Linked DNA regions of Homo sapiens: regions 2 and 3 are each linked to region 1. Evidence: promoter capture Hi-C in 16 types of primary human blood cells and fetal thymus (Javierre and others, 2016). All regions are on one chromosome and are shown on one strand. The core of a region is centred on a gene start or on the middle of the fragment in contact, and the rest is flanking DNA. Distances in the headings are between cores, read along the strand shown. Region 1 holds the start of CUL3 (cullin 3). Region 2 overlaps AP1S3 (adaptor related protein complex 1 subunit sigma 3). Region 3 overlaps SERPINE2 (serpin family E member 2).

What was found. The method cuts DNA at HindIII sites, captures the fragments that hold promoters and counts their contacts. A CHiCAGO score of 5 or more calls a contact.
Region 2: a contact is called between a fragment that was not itself captured here and the fragment with the promoter of CUL3 in region 1, in 4 of 17 cell types (naive B cells, total B cells, monocytes and 1 more). The highest score is 8.7, in naive B cells.
Region 3: a contact is called between a fragment that was not itself captured here and the fragment with the promoter of CUL3 in region 1, in 1 of 17 cell types (erythroblasts). The highest score is 8.2, in erythroblasts.

What each region holds. Positions count from the first base shown.
Region 1 is chr2:224,583,064-224,586,982 of GRCh38, reverse strand. It overlaps CUL3 (cullin 3), which reads left to right and starts at 1,620. Exons shown (of 16, transcript NM_003590.5): 1 at 1,620-2,039. The coding sequence starts at 1,974. RefSeq lists silencers at 1,147-1,566, 1,897-2,156. The HindIII fragment of the contact is 1,789 bases long and covers 847-2,635 here.
Region 2 is chr2:223,833,084-223,837,002 of GRCh38, reverse strand. The region is part of intron 1 of AP1S3 (adaptor related protein complex 1 subunit sigma 3); the gene reads left to right. Among named protein-coding and RNA genes, the nearest start is that of AP1S3, 2.5 kb to the left of the region's middle. RefSeq lists an enhancer at 1-14. The HindIII fragment of the contact is 4,436 bases long and covers 1-3,919 here.
Region 3 is chr2:223,994,953-223,998,871 of GRCh38, reverse strand. SERPINE2 (serpin family E member 2) reads left to right here. Exons shown (of 9, transcript NM_001136528.2): 3 at 530-757. Among named protein-coding and RNA genes, the nearest start is that of MRPL44, 39 kb to the right of the region's middle. The HindIII fragment of the contact is 4,324 bases long and covers 1-3,919 here.

The DNA of each region.
Region 1 (3,919 bases), core at 371-2,870:
TATCTTACATTGAAGTCAGAGCCTCTCCCAATCTTAGTTTATCAACTCAGTTCTTGATAACCTATTTTTAGCTTCAGTATTTACAGATATTGTCTTAAGCAACATTCTTGTTTCTTAAGCTCCTGCTTTAATTAGCCAATACCAAAAAACTCCCACAAAAAAAAAAAAAAAACAAGAAAATATGGTATTTGCAGTGGGGCGTTTTAAGCAAGAAGGGGCTTTAAGCACAACACTCATAAGCTTAGTCATCAGGATTAAGTTAATTTAGGGCAAATTCAACCTTACAGTCAACAAATAAGTGTATTTCACTTTATATTGTTTGCTATTTAAAAGTATTAAAATTCCAGCTTCTAAATGTAGATATCCATCCCCCAAACATATGCTTCTTTAAAATAGGAAGAACACAAACTTTAATAAGAACTCACGTATTCCCTTGCAGAGTCAGAAACCCAAACATAACAGCAATTGGGCAAGTAGGTAAATGAGGAAGTACAATTCATAACAAATGGACAGCAAAACCGATAAGTCAAATTAGACATTTTGACTATAAAGCGACCAAACGCCTCTCCTCCAAAACCAAAAGCCAAAACCTTTTCAAATATACAGCAACTGAATCAGACGGTAATTTTGGCTTTAAAAATCTACAATACTCTTGGTAATGGTAGAAATGATTTATCCGGTAGGTTAAAGATAGGTTTCTATCATTCCACTTAACATTATTTACCAAATGCTGCATTTCATTAATGGAGCTGTCAGTTTATTCTGATGGTAATGAAAAACAGGTTTTAACATGAATAAGCCCTGGGTCCACCAGAAAATATCAGTGAATCAAGAGGTCCCGAAGCTTATGCAGTTTAAGGGAACTTCGTAGATTAAATTTCCACCTTCCAGTCCTGAGAGCTGTGGTGTGCACACCCAGTCCGAATACCTTGTTGAGCATACAGGACACTAATTTCCGACACTGCAGCTAACTCCTGCACAAACTCTTCAAGTTGCAGGCTTCTACTCAAGTACCCATCCCTAGTCCACATGCCCTAGAAAAACACAGGAACCAGTTCGGGACGTAGTTACACATCTAGCACCCCACGCTCCTCCTCAAGACTATCCTCCTGCTGTCCCAGCCCAGTGGGGCCCAGCCCACTACCATCCCGCTCCCGCTCTCCGAACTTCCCCCCTCCCACTCCCCACCATGTGACCAGGACCCTCCCAACCGCCGCTCCGAGCTCCACCAATCAGCAACCACCTCCACCCAGAACCCGGGACCTGGCGCTCCACTTTCAAAAAGGCAGCTTAATCCTCCCGCCCTCAGCCACGCCCCCTTTCCGCTTCCCCGCCCCGCCGGCCCCTCCCACTTCCTTCAGTTCCCTGTTCCCCTCCTCCCCTCCGGTGGCGCCCACCCTCTCCCGGGCTTCGCCCCGCCCACCAGGGGGGCAGCGCGCTCGCCCTCTTCTCGCGAGATCTGAGCGTCCCCCGCGGCGGCCGCCGGGCTCCCCCTCCCGTCCTCCCACCTCCCTCCCCCGGCATCTCTCACTCTCCGGCTCTCCTCCCTCCCTCCTCCCCCCTCCACCCTCTGGGCCGGATCTCGTCTCGCTCAGGCGGAGGAGGAGAAGGAGGAGGAGGAGGACGACGTTCGGCCTGCGCAGTGAGATGTTTGTCCGTCGCCGCCGCCGCCGCCATCGCGGAGGAGCGCGATAAAGGGAGCCGAGCCGGACGTGAGGGGGACCCCGCGGAGCCGCCGCGCCAGCGCAGCCCCCCAGCCGCATCGGAGTCGCCAGAGTCCGAGCCGCCGCCGCCGCCGCCGCCGCCCCCGCCGCCGCCGCGGCTGCCCAGGGGCCGGCCAGCTCCCCAGCCCTGCCCGGGGGTCGCGCCGCCGCCGCCCCCAGCGTCGCCCCTAGCCTGCCTGCCCGCCTTAAATGTGACACCGGCGTCGCGGAGCGCGACCTGAAGCCGCCGCCGGGGAGGGGACGAGCACCATGTCGAATCTGAGCAAAGGCACGGGCAGCCGGAAGGACACCAAGATGCGGATCCGGGCCTTTCCGGTGAGTCTCTCCTCGGCGTCCGGGACCCCGGGGCCGGGGGCCGGGCCGAGAGCCGCACGCGAGGCCCGGGCTGAAGTCCCCCAACAGGCCGCAGGCCCGGCCTCCCCTCCCCCACGCCCGCCGGCCGCGGGGCGCGAGCCTTCCCGGCAACCGGGCGGCGCGGGGCCCCGGCGCGGCCGCCCTCCCGGGCCGTTCCCCGCGCCGGGAGCCCGGGCCTGGCGCCGCGCCCCCGTCCGGGAGCTGCTCCTTCAGCCGCTCCGCGGGCGTCGGCTGCGGCCGGGGCCCCTCGGCCGCCCCACGCCTCCCCACGTTGCCGGGGTTGTAGGCCCAGTCTCCGGCGCTGCTAGCAGCCGCGGAGTCCTCCCTGTGTGGGGCGTGTGTGGAACTTTTCACGTGGGGTTTCGCTACACTTTGAAAATTTACCCAGCCTAGCTTTTAGGGTGATGAAGGGGCTGCCCTCTCTCTCTGCCCCCCTCCCCAGGAAGGTCTATGCCATCAACCTGCCCCCGACGCAGTGACAGTGGTTCCACGGAATGCTCCGTGGTCATAAACTAGTAACATTGGGTGTATTTATAGCGTCTTTCATCCTACAAGCTTCCTAAGCACTTTACAAACTCTTGTGCAGGATTGCCTCGCCACTCGGAGGAAGGCCGGGTGGGGGGGAAGCAACAGAGAGCAAACCGGCCAATTGGTTCTCCATTTCTCAGCCTTGGGAGCCCAAAGAATGAGTGTAGTCGCCTTGCGGAGTAGCTTTGTTTCATCGCTTTCAGTGACAGCAAACGTGTTCTGCTCAGAAACTTTTTCTTTTTTGGCATTACGTTGAGTCGTACCCTTGCGATGTTTAGTATATAGGATATAACTTTGGGTGTCAAATCTGGTTCAGCTTCCCCGTGGCAAGCAATTAAAATGTACTGTTAACGAACTGGGCATACTTGCCTATGTCGCTACAATAAAAGGCATACGTCAAGACAGACGAACTAGCAATCGGACAGAAGATTTTAAAAAGTAAAATTAGAGAAAGATCTTGGTCTTCCCTTCTTAGATTCATAAATACTTCATATGATGTACCAGCGAAAGAGGGGGATTTGTTGTCACTTTTTAAAGCATGCTTTTCCTGAAGCGCAGTTGCAGTGAGGAAAGACTTACCTTGATGTGATTGCCCCAGTTGAGTCAAGTGATTTAGTTTCAGAGAACATGAGGACCTCTCTGAATTCCTAAAATTTAAAAGGATACACCTCATGCAGAATTCTGAAATTGTAAGAACATAAATACTAAAGTCAGTGTGCGAAAACCTCTGCTTTGTGTAAATAGGTACGATGGAATTTAGGAGAATAAGTGTTTTGATAATAATTAAAGATTTTTTGAATGTTTCAAACTTTTTTCTAAGTAAACGTGAGAAATGTTGACAAGCGAGTACTAACGAAGCTTACTAGTATGTTTTCCCTTATAATTGGGCAGAGCTGGGTTATGCATTTGTGAGTGATATTAATTTTCCTACTAAATTCTGACCACTTTAGAGTTTAGAATTACTTAGAATTTTATGAAGTTAATAGTTGTATACAACAGATTTTCTTTTTTTTTGAGACAAGAGTTTCGCTCCTGTTGCCCAGGCTGGAGTACAATGGCGTGATCTCAGCTAACCGCAACCTCCGCCTCCTGGGTTAAAAGCCTCCTGAGTAGCTGGGATTACAGGCATGCGCCACCACACCGGGCTAATTTCGTATTTTTAGTAGAGACGAGGTTTCTCCATGTTGGTCAGGCTGGTCTCGAACTCCCGACCTCAGGTGATCACCGACCTCGGCCTCCCAAAGTGCTGGGATTACAGGAGTGAGCCACCGCGCCAGGCCTATATACAACAGATTTTCTAGCAGTGTGTGCAG
Region 2 (3,919 bases), core at 865-3,364, 750 kb after region 1:
GGTGGAGTGGCAACTTTTGATTTGGCAAAGCCTCTTCAAGGACATGACATTCTAGCTGCTGGAGGTCCTGGAGGGGCGCTACAGGTGGATTAGAGAGAGCAAAGCGGAGGGGAGAAGGCCTTGTTTGTGGCAGGAGAGGTGGGCTTCTGCCAGGTGAGGCGGGTTTTTATAGGCCAAAATAAGGAGTTTGGTTTTGGTTCCAACTGAGTAGGGGAAACCTCGGGGACGTTTTAGCAAGAAAACTGACCTTACCCGTTGTGCACTTTTGTTTTTTTGAGACTGATCTCGCTCTGTCGCCCAGGCTGAAGTGCAGTGGTGTGGTCTCGGCTCTGCCTCCCGGGTTCAAGCGATTCTCCTGCCTCAGCCTCCCGAGTAACGGGGATTACAGGCGTGTGCCACCACACCCAGCTAATTTTTGTATTTTTAGTAGAGACGGGGTTTCACCATGTTGGCCAGGCTGGTCTCGAACTCCTGACCTCAGGTGATCCGCCTGCCTCGGCCTCCCAAAGTGTAGGGATTACAGGGGTGAGCCACTGCACCCGGCATGGTGTGCAGTTTGGCTGTGGTTGGAGAATGGACTGGGGTGTGTAAGGGCAGGGGATAGGGGGTCAGGTTGGAAGCTGAGGCCGGCCGCAGCCCTGCTGATGAGAGATCTGGTGACCTGCACTTGGGTGGAAGCGATAGCTCAGGCTCCTCTTGCTCTTGCCTGCTGTTTAGGGGCAGCCTTTTAAGAGTGTGGTGGTCTGAACGTCACTAGTCCCACTTCCCCAAGTGTGTTACCACTTCCCAAATCCGCAGAAGGGAAGTGACCTGCACCCTGTGGGCCCACCGGAGGCAGGAGTGGGTGGGCCACGTGGGCTAAGAAAGTTGATCAACAAAGAGAGCCGGGGAGTGCTGAGCACCTGGCCAGCAAGACCGCAGTTGCTGGTTTCTGTTAAAGGTTTGGCTGCACACACTAGCGGCATCATTTTTGTCTGTTGAGGGTTCCTTGTAAATACAGCGTGATGCAAAAACAATGCTGTAAATAATGGAGCAGGTTTCTTGGCTTGCTCAAGTTTCCCAAGGAACAAGGTGACAGATGCCCAGTCCACCAGTGTAATTTGCCTAACAGAGGCTGGAATAAGGCCCTGCGTTTCTGAGTCATCAAAGGCTGCTTTTGTGCTGAGGAATGGGCCAAGGTTTGGTCTATAAGGAAAAGCTGCTCCTCTGGACAATACCTGTGGTGGAGTTTTATTTTTTCTTGCTGGTGTCATATGTGTGATGAGTTGATCAGAAATGTGGGAAGTTTCTCCAGCTTTTCTACCAGTTTTTGCTAAATGGGAAACATTATTATTATTTTTTTTTCTTCGAGACGGAATCTTGCTCTGTCACCCAGGCTGAAGTGCAGTGGCATGATCTTGGCTCACTGCAACCTCCATCTCCCGAGTTCAAGCAATTCTCCTGCCTCAGCCTCCTAAGTAGCTGGGATTACAGGCGCCCGCCACCACGCCTAGCTAATTTTTGTATTTTTAGTAGAGACGGGGTTTTGCCATGTTGGCCAGGCTGGTCTCAAACTCCTGACCTCGTGATCCACCTGCATCGGCCTCCCAAAGTGCTGGCATTACAGGCATGAGCCACCGCACCTGGCGGGGAAACATTAATGTTATTGGGCATTTGTGATAAGACAAGCAGGATGTCCTGCTCTTTATATTCACGATCTCATTCAATCCTTGCAACAAACAATTGAGGTTAAATCTGTTATGCTCATTGCATTTTAGCTACTCTGAGCTATTCTAGCAGTATGGCCTTGGACAATTCCTTGACCTCTCTGTCTCAGTTTGCCCATTTGAAAAATGGAGATAATATCTCCTAACTCATAAGGCAGAGGTTCTGAAAGTGTGACCTGGGTACCCCCAGCAGTCCCCAAGACTTTTACTGGAGGTCTGCAAGGTCAAAACTATTTTCATAATAATACTAAGATATTAATTTTCCCATTTCATTCTCATTCTCACAAGACTACAGTGAAGTTTTCTTGTGTCTACATAAGCTGAGATAGTACAACAGATTGAACACAGATGCAGATAGGAAAGTCCAACTGTCTTTGATAAGCCCAGACATTAAGGAGATTTGCAAAATTGTAAAACAGTGCCATGCTTTTCACTAATTTTTTTTTTGCTTTGGAAAAATATTGTTATTGGTCATAAAAATGTTATTTATGTTTAATGTGTAATAGGTTTACTATTGTTTTTTCTTTTTATTTATTTATTTTTGAGACAGGGTCTCTGTGTCGCCCAAGCTGAGTGCAGTGGTGTGATCACAGCTCACAGCAGCCTCAACCTCCTAGGCTCCAGCAACCCTCCTACCTCAGCTTCTTGAGTAGCTGGGACTGTAGGCATGTCCCACCATGCCCAGCTATTTATTTATTTATTTATTTTGAGACAAGGCTTGTTCTATCACCCAGAGTAGAGTGCAGTAGCATGAACATGGCTTACTGCAGCCTCAACCCAGTGGACTCAAGGCATCCTCCTACCTCAGCCTTCCATGTAGCTGGGACCACAGGTGTGTGCCATCATGCCCAGGTAATTTTTTGATTTTTGTATAAATGAGGTCTTACTTTGTTGCCTAGGCTGGTCTTGAACTCCTGAACTCATGTAATATTCCCACCTTGTCCTCCCAAAGTGCTGAGATTATAGGCATGAACAATTGGGCCCAGTGGAATTTTTTACTTTTTGTAGAAATGAAGCCTACCTATGTTGCCCAAGTCGTATTATTTTAAAATATGTTAATATCTATTTTTTCATTTTAATTTCAAATACAATAAATATCAGTGGATATAACCCACATAAACAAAAAGGTCTTTGGGATTGGCAGGCGGATCACCTGAAGTCAGGAATTTGAGACCAGCCTGATCAACATGGAGAAACACTGTCTCTACTAAAAATACAAAATTAGCTGGGTGTGGTGGCGCATGCCTATAATCCCAGCTACTTGGGAGGCTGAGGCAGGAGAATCGCTTGAACCCGTGAGGTGGAGGTTGTGGTGAGCCAAGATCGTGCCATTGCACTCCAGCCTGGGCAACAAGAACAAAACTCCATCTCAAATAAATAAATAAATAAATAAATAAATAAATAAATAAATAAAAAGAGTGTAAAGGCATCCAAAAAGTTTCATAATCACTGTCCCGGAGTTTAACAGGTACCATAAGTGAATGCGTGTGAAGGCGCTTCAAACAGCTTTGCCATTGTAAATGCTCAGTAACCATCACCTCTCCTCTGTTATTACCTTCAAGTTGTAAGAAAGAATTGGCGGCCCTCGCTAGTGCCCAGCTGCTCTGAGACCTTTGTTGAGGCTCACTGTGTAACTCCCTGTCTTTCCTGCTGCTTCATTCCTGACTTTTGCTGACTTTTATGCTAGGAAACTGGTAGATGCTTACTGGCAGATCTAGGCACCTAGTACTTTACACACAGAAAATGGTTCTTGATTCCATGGTGCCAGTGACCCTGGTTTCTGGCACAGAGATTTCATATCTGGTGCATGTTGGGACTGTGTTTGTATCTGGATCACACTGTTTGAAGCAACTGTGTACTCCATCTCACCTTTTAGAAATCTCTACCTTGGAAAACAGTGTTAGGGCTATTGCACTTCAGGAATCCCACGAGCTGAGCCCAGTGTGTTTAAAAAGGCTTATGGGGCAGAATGTACTGTTGAATGGTTGGCAATGAAGGAGGATTATGTTGTTTATGTATGTATGTATGTATGTATGTATGTATGTATGTATGTATTTTGCCTTTAACAAGATAGCTGTGGGGATGTATACAGTGACATTTGAAATGCTTTGGGGGTACTTTTAATAAAAGCACAAGTGGACTTTGATGTATGTAGTCCATGTGCTTCTGAAAAGTTGAGGTGACACAAAACCACATTGTGAACAAAACAGTAG
Region 3 (3,919 bases), core at 549-3,048, 590 kb after region 1:
TGATGCAGAAGCACAGTTGATTTTTGAGAGCTTCAGTGGTTAGACTTTAACCCCACTCCCTCCTTTTCTTAAGAAATAGGCCCCTGAGAGAACAGAAGACTTAGTTTCTTGCTACTCATAGCTATCCTGTTTATACTGTTCTGTTATTTTTATTTTTGAGACAGGGTCTTGCTTAGTCACCCAGGCTGTATGCAGGGGCCCGATCATGGCTTACTGCAGCCTCGACTTCCCAGGCTCCAGCGATCCTCCCACCTCAGCCTCCTCAAGTAGTTGGTATCACAGGCGTGCCACCACACCCAGTTAATTTTGTATTTTTGGTAGAGACAGGGTTTTGTCATATTACCCAGGTTGTTCTTAAACTCCTGAGCTCAAGCAATCCACCCACCTCAGCCTCTCAAATTGCTGGGATTACAGGTGTGAGCCACTGCACCTGGCCTATACTGTTCTTACTTGCTGCAACATAAAAGATTTTAAAAACTTTTCTAGATTCTTATGGAAGTATTGCTGTATCTTCTGATTTCTCTTTTAGGAGTTGGTAAAATATTAAAGAAGATCAACAAGGCCATCGTCTCCAAGAAGAATAAAGACATTGTGACAGTGGCTAACGCCGTGTTTGTTAAGAATGCCTCTGAAATTGAAGTGCCTTTTGTTACAAGGAACAAAGATGTGTTCCAGTGTGAGGTCCGGAATGTGAACTTTGAGGATCCAGCCTCTGCCTGTGATTCCATCAATGCATGGGTTAAAAATGAAACCAGGGGTGAGTGGCCGCAGTATGTCATTTGATTGCATAGTTTGTGAATGAAGCATGAGTTAGACTCCAGGGTTCAAAGTGGTGTCTGCAAGTCCAATTCAATGGCCTGTGGGTTGAGAAACTCCTGGACCAAGGAAGCTCTATTCAGTCTCCCTCCTTCCCCTTCAATCTGCCATTGCTCACTGTGCTCCTGGGAGGTGTTTCTCCTGTAGTTTGGGCAACAGAACAGAATCCAGCCCCTCCACTGTCTCCTCTCCTTGCCATATCTGGTCTCCAGCATCCTTGCCCACAGGCTCTTGTTGATTTTGAAGGTTTTCTTGCTCATTCCTTCCTGCTTTTGCATCTGCCTCTCCCTTTACCTGGAATGTCCTCCTCATCCTTCCAGGTTGATTGATCTCTTTGCCTTCCATGCCTCTTGCTTCTGCCATTGCCAAAGACATAGGTACCCTGTTGTCCGTTATGATTGGCACATGATTACAACTTTTACACCCCCCCGATTACAGCCCTTTCCACATCTCAAAATGATTACTCATTTGTAAGTGTCTCTTCTCCCATTAAATAAAGGAGAGTCTAACGTTGGTGTTTTAAAACTTAATTTGTAGGCCAGGTGCAGTGGCTCACACCTGTAATCCCAGCACTTTGGGAGGCCAAGGTGGGTGGATCACCTGAGGTCAGGAGTTCGAGACCAGCCTGGCCAACATGGTTTATCCCATCTCTACTAAAAATACAAAAATTAGCCAGACATGCTGGCGGGCACCTGTAATCCCAGCTACTTGGGAGGCTGAGGCAGGAGAATCGCTTGAACCTGGGAGGGGGAGATTGCAATGAGCCGAGATTGCAACCCTGCACTCCAGCCTGGGCAACAGAATGAGACTGTGTCTAAAACAACAACAACAAAAAGAAACAAAAAAACAAAAAAACCTTAATTTGTAACGTGGAGGTCCAGTTGGAAACATGCAGGAGGAGCTGTAGGTCTGGAACAACAGGAGAATGTGAAGGATGGGAGTACAGATTTGGGACCTTTTTTTTATTTTTAATTTTTTGGAGACAGGGTCTCACTCTGTCTCTTAGGCTAGAGCGCAGTGGTGCAATCATAGCTCACTGCAGCCTCAACCTCCTGGGCTCAAGTAATCCTCCCACCTCAGCCTTTCCGGTAGCTGGAACTACAGGTGTGCGCCACCATGCCTGGCTAATTTTTTTATTTTTTGAAGAGGTGGGGTCTCACTGTGTTGCCCATGCTGGTCTCGAACTCTTGGGTTCAAGCAGTCCTCTCGCCTCAGCCTCCCAGAGTGCTGGGATTATAGGCATGAGCCCCTGTGCCTGGCTATAGAGCCTTTTTTCATAGAAGGGAGAGAGTCAATAGGAAGAAGAAGCCCAAAGACAAAACCTAGGGAAACTGTCGCCTTTCAGGCTATGTTTCTTAAAAGTGTGGTTACTGGTGTCCCTGCATCAGAATTATCTGGGCTATGTGTTGAGAAGGCAGATCCCTGGAGCCCAGCCCACTGCATTGGAATCGCCGAGGGAGTGGCTGGCAACTCCCAGTCTGCCTCTGCCTCCCATCACCATTCTTACACACCCAGATGTTGGAGACCCATTAGCAGAACTAGTGAAGAGGTGGACAAAGAAGGCTCCAGGGAGGGTGGAGGAGACCCCAGGTGACTTGGGTAAATTCGTGGCGTCCCTTCTCAGTGGGGCCTGGACCATGCAGTCTGGGCGCCCTTCCTAAAACCATAAACCATCGGGAGGTCAGCACACATGAGGGTGTTCAGTGGAGTCTCCAGGTGTCTGGCATCTGTAGGCTTGTGAAGAGTGGTCAGAAGCAGACGCCCTCAGGACTGGTTCTTGGTCCTGACTCTGTGGCTGGAGGCTGTGTGACTGTGACATGTCATTTTGTCCTCTTAGCCGCTGCCTTGATCTGTAGAATGGCAATATTAAACCACATTAGTTAGACCATGTGACAGTCTTCAGAGCACCTGGAGAAAACCCCCACGTGTGCTGGGAAGAAGCATGGAGACTCCTGCAGCACTTTGCAGCCCTGTCAGCCCCAGCTCCTCCGTTTGTAACAAATATTTTTAATACTCTCTTTACTATTCTGAAATGAAATTCATACATCATATTACTCTATGCACACACACAAATTTTTAAAAATTTGAGACAGTGCCAAACTGTAATACAAAGGAAAACAAAAGAAATGTATATATGTAGTTCAATAGGTAAACCCTTGGGTACAACTACACTCAAATACGTAATAAAGTAGTCAGAGTCTCAGAATAATTGTGAATTGACAGCTACAAAAGCAGACAGAGACAGGCATGTTGTCCTGGTGACTCATAAACATGAGCTGTGTTAACTATTGCTGATGCAATTTTTTCTGAAACGGTGCAAGACTTTTGATAAATTTCTGAACAAAACAAAGCACAGGCTCTGCTTGATTTGCGTGGGACTCACATTCCTGGCAAATTCAGCATACATGAAAAGGATGCAAAAACAAAAACAAAAACAAAAACAAAAAACCCAAAACACCCTGTGTTTACACACGAAAAAGAACGAGGTTCTGGGCTCAGATAATTATAAGTAGGTGTCCTACCAATGCAGAGATCCGGTGGGGTATTGAAAAGCCACGGGAGAAGCAGCACAATTCTTCATTGGGTGGGACTGTTTTGAACATTGCAGGACAGATAGCATTTCTGGCCACTGCCCACTCAATTAAAAACATCCCTGCCAAATTCCAAACTGCCTTTACCTGGGGGTGAACTGCCCCCACTGAAAGGTACATGACCACATGGTAGAGCTCAGAAGTGACTTGGAGCTCAACTGTTTGTGTCTGGAAGGTTGCTGGGTCTGTCTCACGGAAATGATAGTTCCTTCCCTACAGAGAGTGGGAGAGCCCAACGCGCAGGCCTTTTGCAGGAGGAGACCCATCAGGGATGGGTCTGGCCTGTTGACCTCTGCAGACTCACTCATCCTTGTACTCTATGTTCCAGCCACACAGGCCTCTTCCTAGTCCCCTTACCCACCATCCTGTCTCCTGTTGGAGAACCGCACACATACACTCCTGCTGCCTTCTCTCCCTCTTCCCTGGTTAAGGCCAACTCATTTCTGTACCATACCATGAGTGGCAGGCATGAACATTAAAAGCACACATTCTGAGTTTGAATCTCGGTTCTG